4 separate regions of the Homo sapiens genome follow, and all the other regions are linked to region 4. Evidence: promoter capture Hi-C in human tissues and cell types (Jung and others, 2019). All regions are on one chromosome and are shown on one strand. Each heading gives the region's core, a stretch centred on a gene start or on the middle of the fragment in contact. The rest is flanking DNA. Distances are from core to core; before and after follow the strand shown.

What was found. The method cuts DNA at HindIII sites, captures the fragments that hold promoters and counts their contacts. A contact is called where the count stands out against the background at its distance.
Region 1: a fragment that was not itself captured here is called in contact with the fragment with the promoter of NOL11 in region 4 in 1 of the 25 tissues and cell types used here (small bowel).
Region 2: a fragment that was not itself captured here is called in contact with the fragment with the promoter of NOL11 in region 4 in 1 of the 25 tissues and cell types used here (H1 embryonic stem cells).
Region 3: a contact is called between a fragment that was not itself captured here and the fragment with the promoter of NOL11 in region 4, in 1 of the 25 tissues and cell types used here (lymphoblastoid cells).

The regions. Positions count from the first base shown.
Region 1 is chr17:67,908,562-67,911,261 of GRCh38, forward strand. It overlaps BPTF (bromodomain PHD finger transcription factor), which reads left to right. Exons shown (of 28, transcript NM_182641.4): 10 at 1,021-1,200; 11 at 2,316-2,700. Among named protein-coding and RNA genes, the nearest start is that of BPTF, 84 kb to the left of the region's middle. The HindIII fragment of the contact is 6,108 bases long and covers 1-2,700 here.
Region 2 is chr17:67,940,582-67,943,281 of GRCh38, forward strand. BPTF (bromodomain PHD finger transcription factor) reads left to right here. Exons shown (of 28, transcript NM_182641.4): 19 at 1-75. Among named protein-coding and RNA genes, the nearest start is that of C17orf58, 55 kb to the right of the region's middle. The HindIII fragment of the contact is 4,368 bases long and covers 1-2,700 here.
Region 3 is chr17:67,483,840-67,486,539 of GRCh38, forward strand. The region is part of intron 1 of PITPNC1 (phosphatidylinositol transfer protein cytoplasmic 1); the gene reads left to right. Among named protein-coding and RNA genes, the nearest start is that of MIR548D2, 14 kb to the left of the region's middle. The HindIII fragment of the contact is 4,234 bases long and covers 1-2,700 here.
Region 4 is chr17:67,716,486-67,719,185 of GRCh38, forward strand. NOL11 (nucleolar protein 11) reads left to right here and starts at 1,451. Exons shown (of 18, transcript NM_015462.5): 1 at 1,451-1,603. The coding sequence starts at 1,463. LOC101928045 (a long non-coding RNA gene) reads right to left here and starts at 1,193. Exons shown (of 4, transcript NR_188294.1): 1 at 1,157-1,193. RefSeq lists enhancers at 1,362-1,441, 1,512-1,701, 2,624-2,700 and a silencer at 1,972-2,061. The HindIII fragment of the contact is 26,229 bases long and covers 1-2,700 here.

The DNA.
Region 1 (2,700 bases), core at 198-2,697, 190 kb after region 4:
AGTTCACTGCAGCCTCCAACTCCCAGGTTCCAGCGATTCTCCTGCCTCAGCCTCCTGAGTAGGGATCACAGTTGCACGCCACCATGCCTGGCTAATTTTTGTATTTTTAATAGAGGCGGGGTTTCACCATGTTGGCTAGGCTGGTCTTGAACTCCTTGTCCTCAAGTGATCCGCCCACCTTGGCATCCCAAAGTGCTGGGATTACAGGCATAAGCCACTACACCCATCCAAATTTTATCACTCTTGTTTCAGTTGTCACTGACAATTTTTTTTTTTTTTTTTTTTTTTGTTGACACGGAGTCTCACTCTGTCGCCCAGGCTGGAGTGCAGTGGCGTGACCTCAGCTCACTGCGACCTCCGCCTCCTGGGTTCAAGCAATTCTCCTGCCTCAGCCTCCTGAGTAGCTGAGATCACAGGTGTGCACCACCACACCCAGATAATTTTTGTATTTTTAGTAGAGATCGGGTTTCACCATGTTAGCCAGGCTGGTCTCAAACTCCTGACCTCAGGTGATGCACCCACCTCGGCCCCTCAAAGTGCTGGGATTACAGGCATGAGCCACCGCACCAGCCTATAGTATTAATGTTTATCTTGTAGCTGACTATGTTACTGAATCACAGTTTTTTGTTTTTTTTTTAATTTTTGGACACAGAGCCTCACTCTGTCACCCAGGCTGGAGTGCAGTGGCATGAGCCACCGCACCAGGTCCCCCCCCCCCTTTTTTTTTTTATCCTGCAGTGTTTTAAAACAAATTTCCTAAATCATATTTCACCAAAAATGTTCACAAAGTTTTCTGAAATGTCTGAAGTTCAGGCATTCCTTCTGTGTTTTAGGTCAGCCAGGCATATAGGATTATATGGTACCTTATACTCAATAAGACCTTTGTCTTTTTTTTTTTTTTAAATGAAAAAATGAAACATAACTTGCTGGAAATTACTTGTTTATTTTCACTAAACTTGACATATTAAAGTGCTAATACTCTGGAAATAACGTAAATTATCGTTACATGGTTCTTTTTAGCCAAAAATAATATGGATGAAAATATGGATGAGTCAGATAAAAGAAAATGTTCACGAAGTCCAAAAAAAATAAAAATAGAGCCTGATTCTGAAAAAGATGAGGTAAAAGGTTCAGATGCTGCAAAAGGAGCAGACCAAAATGAAATGGATATCTCAAAGATTACTGAGAAGAAGGACCAAGGTAAGGAGAGTCAGCTGTGGAGGGCAGCCTGGGGGTGATAAGAATGCACTGGATCAGGGTCCCACCACAGGAAAGGTACTGCGTTGTGTTTTCTTGATAACAGCTTTATCAAAACATAATTGATATCCCATACAATTCACCCAATTAAAGTGTAAATTCAGTGGCTTTTAGTATATTCACAAAGTTCAACCATTATTACATCAATCTTAGAACATTTTCATAACCTTGAAAAGAAGCCTCATTCATACCCATTAGCAGTTACTTCCCAACCCCTCCCGAAAGTGCCACCAGCTTAGTGGTCTACTTTCTGTCTCTCTGGATTTGCCTATTTTGGACAGTCCATAGAAATGGAATCAGACAATATGTGGTCCTTTGTGGCTGGCTTCATCCACTTAGCATGGTTTTAAGGTTCATCCATGTTGTAGCATTTATCAGTACTTTCTTTTTGTTTCTGAATAATACTCTGTATGGATATGCCACATTTTGTTATCCATTCATCAGTTGATGGACATTGGGCTGTTTCCTCTTTTGGCTATACGAATAATGCTGCTATGAACATTCATGCAGAAGTTTTTTGTGGCCATGCGTTTTCACTTCTCTTGGCGATATACCTAGGAATGGAATTACTGGATCATATGGTAACTCTGTTTAACCTTTTGAGGAACTACATTGTCTTTTGTAACAAGTCATTTTTAAAAAAAAACTAGATAAGCTAGATAATGCATGTGGCTAGAGATACTTTAAAAAAATATTTTTGGCTGGGCGTGGTGGCTCATGCCTGTAATCTCAGCACTTTGGGAGGCTGAGGTGGGCGGATCACCTGAAGTCAGGAGTTCAAGACCAGCCTGGCCAACATTGCGAAACCCTGTCTCTACTGAAAATTCAAAAATAAGCCAGGCATGGTGGCACATGCCTATAATCCCAGCTACTTGGGAGGCTGAAGCATGAGAATTGCTTGAACCCAGGAGGCGGAGGTTGCAGTGAACTGAGATCATGCCACTGCACTCCAGCCTGGGCAACAGAGTGAGACTCCATCTCAAAAAAAAAAATATATATATATAAATTCCTCCTTTCAGAGTAAAAATTACATTTATATAAATGTCTTTGTTTCACAGATGTGAAGGAGCTCTTAGATTCTGACAGTGATAAACCCTGCAAGGAAGAACCAATGGAAGTAGACGATGACATGAAAACAGAGTCACATGTAAATTGTCAGGAGAGTTCTCAAGTAGATGTGGTCAATGTTAGTGAGGGTTTTCATCTAAGGACTAGTTACAAAAAGAAAACAAAATCATCCAAACTAGATGGACTTCTTGAAAGGAGAATTAAACAGTTTACACTGGAAGAAAAACAGCGACTCGAAAAAATCAAGTTGGAGGGTGGAATTAAGGGTATAGGAAAGACTTCTACAAATTCTTCAAAAAATCTCTCTGAATCACCAGTAATAACGAAAGCAAAAGAAGGGTGTCAGAGTGACTCGATGAGACAAGAACAGAGCCC
Region 2 (2,700 bases), core at 28-2,527, 220 kb after region 4:
TCACAACCCCCTCGCCCCCAACAAGGACAAGTGAAGCTCACCATGGCTCAACTTACTCAGTTAACACAGGGCCACGTAAGTAACATAAGCTTTATTTTAACTTTAGAGGTGATCTTATTTATTCTTGCGGTAAGTTTAAAAACATGAACTTATTTTGATACGTTTTTAAATGTGCTGATTTGAAGAAATGGTTGCTTCCTGGAGTCAAGCAGAAATACCTCTTAGACAGGATATAATAAACCCCAACTACTAGAGTAATCTTTAGACAGTGAGCTAAAACAGTGAGACAGATAACCCTTTTAAACACCAAAATTTTATTAGTTGGCTAATCTCCATGAGACAAATAAAATTTGAGTACATTAAGCTGCTTCCTTGCAAGACTCGATATTGTTAGCAAGTCTTCTAATATTGATTAATAAATTGAATGCAGCTCCCATCAAAATCCCAAGAGGTTTTGTTTTTAGTGAAACTTCACAAGCTGATACTGAAAGTTTATATGGAGGTACAAAGTATTAAGAATATCTGTACCTTTGAAGAACAGGATTATTTGCCCTATATATGATAACTTGATATCAAAACTTAGTATAGGCTGGGCATGGTGGCTTGCGCCTGTAATCCCAGCACTTTGGGAGGCCAGGGCGGGTGGATTGCTTGAGGTCAGGAGTCTGAGACCAGCCTGACCAACATGGTGAAATTCCATCTCTGCTAAAAGTACAAACAAATTAGCTGGGCGTGGTGGCATGCGCTTGTAATCACAGCTACTCAGGAGGCTGAGGAAGGAGAATTGCTTGAACCTGGGAGGCGGAGGTTGTAGTGAGCTGAGATTGCACCACTGCATTCCAGCCTGGGTGACAAAGCAAGACTTCATCTAAAAAAAACCAAAAAACTTAGTATATAATACTTCACTAATTAATATAGTGAGGTACAGACATAAGGAGAGGCAGATAGACCAACAGAACAGTAGAGAGTGCAGAACATGAACCCCATGTATGTGGACACTTGTTATATGACAAAGGTGACATTGCAGATCATTGAGGAAGAGATGACTTTTCAGTAAATGGTGCCAGGACAATTGAATATACATGGGAAACTGTGAAATTGGACCATTATTACCTCACTCTACATAAACTCAATTCCAGGAGGATGAAAGTCCTAACTGTGAAAGGTAAAACTATAATACCTTTAGAAGATAGAAGAATATCTTCATAGCTTTCCTAAACAGATAGAAAATGCTAACCATAAATGAAAAGATTTATAAATTCAACTACTTTAAAAATAAGAGTAAGAACCTCTGTTCATCAAACTCACTACAGAGAGAGTGAAGAAAATGAGAAAAGAACCAACCAAGGACTATTACATATCCAGAATATATAAAGAATTACTACAAATCAAGAAAGAAAAAAATCCAGATAGATCAATAGGAAAAAAGACAAACAGGCAAGGTGCGGTGGCTCACACCTGTAATCCCAGCACTTTGGGGGGCCAAGGTTTTGGGAGGCCAAGCCAGGTGGATCACTTGAGGTCAGGAGTTTCAGACCAGCCTGGCCAACATGGGGAAACCCCGTTTCTACTAAAAATACAAAAATTAGTCAGGCGTGGTGGTGTACGCCTGTAATCCCAGCTGCTTGGGAGGCTGAGGCAGGAGAATTGCTTGAACCCAAGAAGCAGAGGTTGCAGCGAGCCAAGATATACCACTGCACTCCAACCTAGGCAACAGACTCCGTCTCAAAAAAAAGAAAAACAAAAAAAAAAGGACAAACCAACATTATGAGGAAAGAAGAAATCTAAATGTCCCAAATTCCAAAAAACTGCTGAACTTTATTAATAATGAGAGAAGTACATATTAAAACCATATGCTTAAGAGATTGGTACAAATTTAAATGTCCAACAAAACCAAGAGTTAGCAAAGACATAGAGCAGAAAGAATTCTCATGCACAGCTGGTGGGCCTATCAGTCGGTTCAGCCATTTTGGAAACTTCCTGGACATGGTCTGGTAAAGTCAAAGCTGTGTATGCCCAAGGTCCCAGTATACCTTCTAGGTATATCCCTAGAGAAGTTGTTGGCCATGTGAGCACCAGAATACATGGCATAAATATTGGTAGCAGCATTGTTCATAAGAATCAAAAACTAAGAACAACTCAGGTGTCTATCAAAATCAGTTAGCTAAGTAAATTGTAGTATATTCCTACAGCAATAAAAATGAATAGACTTCAGCCACACAGAACTATGCAGATGATTCTCACAAATATATAATGGTAAGCTAAAGAAGCAAGTAGCTGCCAAAAAAAATACATGTTATAATTTCATTTGTATAAGATTCAGAAATAGGCAAAACTAAGCTATTTTGTGTAGGGATACAGGGCTGCTGCATTGCCTGCCTGGAGGGGGCACTATTCCCATTGTATTCTTTGTGAATATTGCTCCTGAGTTTGTGAACCTCAGTGGCCTTATATATACCTAAGATACATACCGAAGTAGTAATGAAATACAGTGTTATCATCAAAGTGAGGATAGTGCTTACCTCTAGGGGAGAGGGAGGGAATTGAAATCCGGGTGAGTCATATGGGGACTTCTAGGACACTGGCAATGGTGACCACAGTGGCGGTTTTATAGATGTTTACTTTATAATTTTTAAATTATACTTGGTGTTTTGTGCATTTTGTGCATAAAAAATGTATTTTAGAAAAGCAAGAGTAAAT
Region 3 (2,700 bases), core at 18-2,517, 230 kb before region 4:
GAAGTTTCATAACGCAGCCAGCACTGTTGGTTGTCATGCAATAACCATTCTCCCTTCACCCTTGCTAACGTTTTCTTTCTTTTTTTTTTTTTTTTTGAGGTGGAGTTTTGCTCTTGTTGCCCAGGCTGGAGTGCCGTGGCATGATCTTGGCTCACTGCAACCTCCACCTCCCAGGTTCAAGCGATTCTCCTGCCTCAGCCTCCCAAGTAGCTGGCATTACAGGCATGTACCACCATGCCTGGCTTATTTTGTATTTTTAGTAGAGACGGGGTTTCTCCATGTTGGTTAGGCTGGTCTCGAACTCCCCACCTCAGATGATCCGCCTGCCTTGGCCTCCCAAATTACTGGGATTACAGGGGCGAGCCTCCACACCCAGCCTGTTAATAACGCTTTTCTTCATTCCATTTTCTTGCCTGTGAGATGTGCATAAGACCCAGCTCAGAGAGTTGTTGTTGGTTCCTACTCTCTAACTTTGCCTAATTAGATTTCTGTTAAGCTTGAGATCATTTATAGCCAACTTTTTCCATATTAAAATCATAAGCCTCTGTTGAAAGGTTTTGTTAGTCCAAATTGGAACCGTCTTGACTTCGCATCAAATCATTCATCTCTAGCTCAGTCGCCACATAAGCTTGTATAATTCTCTCAGGGCTTCTGTCATTGTTAATTTACATCTGACCTTGTTCTGAAAACTATTTAAGGCAGTGGAGCCCTAACTTAGAACTTGCTGGCTTTTAACTTTGCCAGTTGGTCTGGACCTGTGAAAATATTTATCCAATCCCCTAAGAAATCAGAGTAAAGATTTTCATGAAAACTTCTAGCCGGGCACAGTGGCTCATGCCTGTAATCTCAGCACTTTGGGAGGCCGAGGTGGGCGGATCACTTGAGGTCAGGAGTTCGAGACCAGCCTGGTCAACATGGTGAAACCTAGACTCTACTAAAAATACAAAAATTAGCCAGGTGTGATGGTGTGTGCCTGTAATATCAGCTACTTTGGAGGCTGAGGTAGGGGAATCGCTTGAACCCGGGACATGGAGGTTGCAGTGAGCTGAGATCATGCTACTGCACTCCAGCCTGGGTGACAGAGCGAGACTCCATCTCAAAAAAAAAACTTCCAAAACCATTTTTACATATTGGTTTATTTTGACTCTTGATCGTTGTGCCAAGAAAGTTGATTATGACTAGCGTTTCCATCTTACAAATAGGGAAATGGAAAACTCAGAAAGGTCAAGTGACTTCCCTGAGGTTGGTAAGGAGTGGTAGAGCCAGGATTTGAACCTGGGCAGTGTAGCCACAGGGTCCTCACTCTTAACCACTTGGCTAAACTGTCTTCATATACGTATGTATGCATGTGTTTGGTTCCCGGTGGTGATGCCATGGGGAGCATTTACCATGAGCGCAGTGGGAAAAGCATGGAGCATGCTGGAAGGCATGGATGCTTACATTTTCATTCCGGATTTGTGGATTTTGCACTAGGGTATCTGCTAGGCCATGAACTAGAATTGTGTACTGAGAGTCATCATTAGTTGGGTGATTTTTTTTTTTTTTTTTTTTTGACATAGGCACTGCTCTGTCGCCCAGGCAGTGGTGTGATCTTGGCTCACAGCAACCTCCGCCTCCTGGATTCAGGCGATTCTCCTACCTCAGCCTCCTGAGTAGCTGGGATTACAGGCACTCACCACCACCCCTGGCTAATTTTTGTATTTTTAGTAGAGATGGGGTCTCACCATGTTGGCCAAGCTGGTCTCTATCCACCCACCTCAGCCTCCCAAAGTGCTGGGATTACTGGTCTCAGCCGCCGCACCCGGCCAATTAGTTAGATCTTTCTACGGAAGAACAACTGACTTGCCAATTTAGTCTGTAAGATCAGGAGTTGAGGGACATTGGAACTACAGAAAAACATTATTAAAGATGACTCTTAAGATGTCAAGAGGAAAGAAAAATGACTTCTTCGGTCAAAAAAAGAGCAAAAGCTATCACGCTGTATGAGCCACAAGCTGAAGGCTGTCTTCTGGGGGCGGCTTAAATGCATTAGATTAGTCTGCAATGTGGATTAAGGGACCGTGGGATTTAATAACTTGCGTATTAAAGAATGGCTCTGCAAATGTTACCCTAACATAAAAATGTAAGCATTCTAATTGAATTTAGAAGCAATAGTATTAAAATTTCTTCTGGTGATGCTCCTTAGACGCATTAAATAAAATATCAAAAGTCACAATTGATTAAACTGAAACTTTAGCATGAGAGTTATTAAGCATTAAATTCTGCTGCTAGAGGTTTTTATTTTATTTTTTCCTGACATGTACTCAGAAAATTCTCCCTTTACATAATTTATGGTCATTCTGCTGTTTAAATGTGCCAAAAAATGTTCTCGGAGTTTTGGCAGTGTTTTGAAATAGAGTATATTATCTTAGTCTTGGGCTATATATATATAATGAACACTCAATATATATTGATGGTGGTGTTTTCATGAGTTGAAGTCTCGCTGTGGGCAAAGGAAGGAATAGGCTATTCTATTACATCTGATGCTTAGCCTGCCTTTAATGAGTAATGTAGAAAAATAGACCTCTTCTTCCTCCTATGGCAAGTCTGTATGTAGTCTTGCTAAGCTTGTGTCTGCCCACAAATCCTAATGAGAAGATGGCATTGATCGGAGATGGTAGCAAAGTACAGCTGGGATACTGCTGTCCATATGTTCCATGG
Region 4 (2,700 bases), core at 201-2,700:
ATTGCAGTGAGTTGAGACTGCGTCACTCCAGCCTGGGCGACAGAGCAAGACCCTGTCTCAAAAAAAAAAAAAAAAAAAAAAAGACATCCTCTCAAGGAGGCCTGTGGTCATCCTAGTGAAAATTTCACATACACAGACCACTCCTTCCTCCCCCACACACCCACGCTTTATCTCTCCCTTCTGAGTTTAATGTTTTTCTTCTTACCACCTATCACAAAGTAAGTTATGAAGCATAATAATAAACTATATCCTCTTGATCTCACAACCCAGCCTAAAAATTAAAAGATTATCAGAGTTCAAGATCACCTTGGGCAACAAAGCAAGACTCCATGTCTGCAAAAAATACAAAAATTAGCCGGGCGTGGTGATGGATGCCTGTAGTCCCAGTTATTCGGGAGGCTGAAGCAGGAGGATTGCTTTATTTAGCCCAAGAGTTAGAGGCTGCAGTGAGCCATGATAATGCCACTACTTTTGAACAACAAAAGACCTATTAGCATTATAAAAATAGACTGCATTTGATTCCTTCACAGTAGCTGGATATTCTCCTTTTGCCCATGTCGTCATGTTGGGGCAATGAGAAACAACACACATGGCGATCTGGTGGATGCTTAAATCTAAACTGAGGCACTTTGTCACACTGGGTACATTTGTTTAGTAATTGCCTATTAAATGGTTTCTCCCTAAGAACATCACAATTTATCTTTACTTATTTATTTAACATTATTGATTGAATCTGCCATGCTTATCTGAGAAACATACATTTCTCCCGGAAATAAAAACCTTGCCAAAAATCACACAGGGGACCTTCAACTTCACCTTCATCAAACTAGTCTGAATTTCCTGTAAGCTGAGGAGAGATTTTCCCCACTGGGGCTCAGAGAAGGGGAGTCAGAGAACTCAGAAGGCCTGAAAGACTGAAAAGACTGGAGATCTCTAGAGGGTTCCAAGAAACTTGGGGGGAATTAAGCATTTCACGTAGGAACAGCACGTTATTGGGAGTTTACCTACAGAGATAAATATTTTTTCTTTGGCAGATCGTTCCACAAGGCCATGGATGGAATTCCTAGGGAGTTCCCTTGCAATTAAAAAAAAAAAAATCTAGCTTATTTATATTCGACCACTCCCTAGACCCATCTACAGTCTCTCAAGTCCCCACCTAGAACAGCACGCAGCCGATTCAGGACCCAGTAAGCAGCACTTCCGCGCCTACCCTATCCCTTCCTGGAGCACATCCGGGACTCGGCGAGGCGTGGTCTCGGGAGGCGGAGTCTGACGCAAGCCGGCCCAGCCCACCTGGCTAAATTCACAGTCGCGCTCGCTCCTTCCGCCCGCCAGAGGTCGCAGGCTGCGAGAGCAGGTTCCTGGTTTGGCAAGCACTCGCCCCCTCAGGCCCGTTCATTCTCGCGAGAGAAAGCGCGAGGCCTGCCGGGAGTGAGCGCGGCCGTACTTAGGTTTGCTCAAAATGGCAGCGCTGGAGGAAGAATTCACGTTGTCTTCGGTAGTCCTGAGCGCCGGGCCTGAAGGACTCCTAGGCGTGGAGCAGAGCGACAAAACAGACCAGTTTCTAGTGACAGACAGCGGCAGGACAGTCATCCTCTATAAGGTGAAGGCAATAGGTTTGGGAGCGCCCCGACTGCCTTCTCGCCCCTTTCTGAGCGCGGAGCTCGAGCTCAAGTTTCTCACAGCTTCAGAAAGAGATCGTGGAGAAGGCTTAGCAGAGAGCCGGCTGGGCCTGTTGGGGACGCTGAGTGAGGTCTGGAATCTGGCTTGCTTGCCTTCCTGTAAAGGCATATTTCCGACTTGCAGGGGCAGAGCGTCTGAGTGCACGTGGGTTAGACTCGGAAAAGAAAGAAAACCTGTGCTTTTGCTTCGGAACTCGCGGAATTGGCCTTGCTAAGATTCCCTCCTAGGGTCTTTATTATCTTAGCCGCCCGCGGGAGGATGGAACGGAGATTGGTTGGGCGGGAGAGGATGACACTGACAGAGTGGGAATAGTGGTTTAGCCGTGTCTACACTTCACACCCCTCTCTTTGTAGGGGCGGGGACAATTTTAGAGAGTGAGGGACTTTCTTGATAGCTCGCTAAGAATCTTGCCTCCAAGTGAGTTGTCTGTTGGCATCTCTGATTCACGCTGGGAATCCTGGAGTTGAGTCCTGGGAAAATCTGCAAGCCCTGCCCCCATTTCAGCCTAAAGCCTGATAGAGAACACTTTCTAACCTTGCTTTTGGTGGTCGCATAGAAAGCAGTTACTTTTCTCTGGGCTGCTGAACATAGTTTTCCATGTTTTAAAGAAGTTAGGTATCTGCTTTGACGTTTTGAGAACAGGTTGCTAACAGCTCCCTGTGCCGTTTTGACTCTGCTAACTCTATTGGGTTTCACTTGGGATGTCAAGTAGATTTGCAGTTTTGCAGCTCCTGCATAGGAATACAATGGCAGATTGGAATTGGATAGACATGATCCCAGATGTCCCTACTTAATTTCCCATGCCGCTGTTCAGAGGCATAACTTCCCATGCAGAGGCATAATATAATCAATTTTTAAATGTACTATTGTTTTTTTAACAAAGGGTTGCTTATTTACTTATTTAGGAACTTAGTTATATTTTCATTTTAACTACCCTTTTAGAGGTTTGGCCGGACGCGGTGGTTCACGCCTGTAATCCCAGAACTTCGGGAGGCCCAGGTGGGTGGATCACTTGAG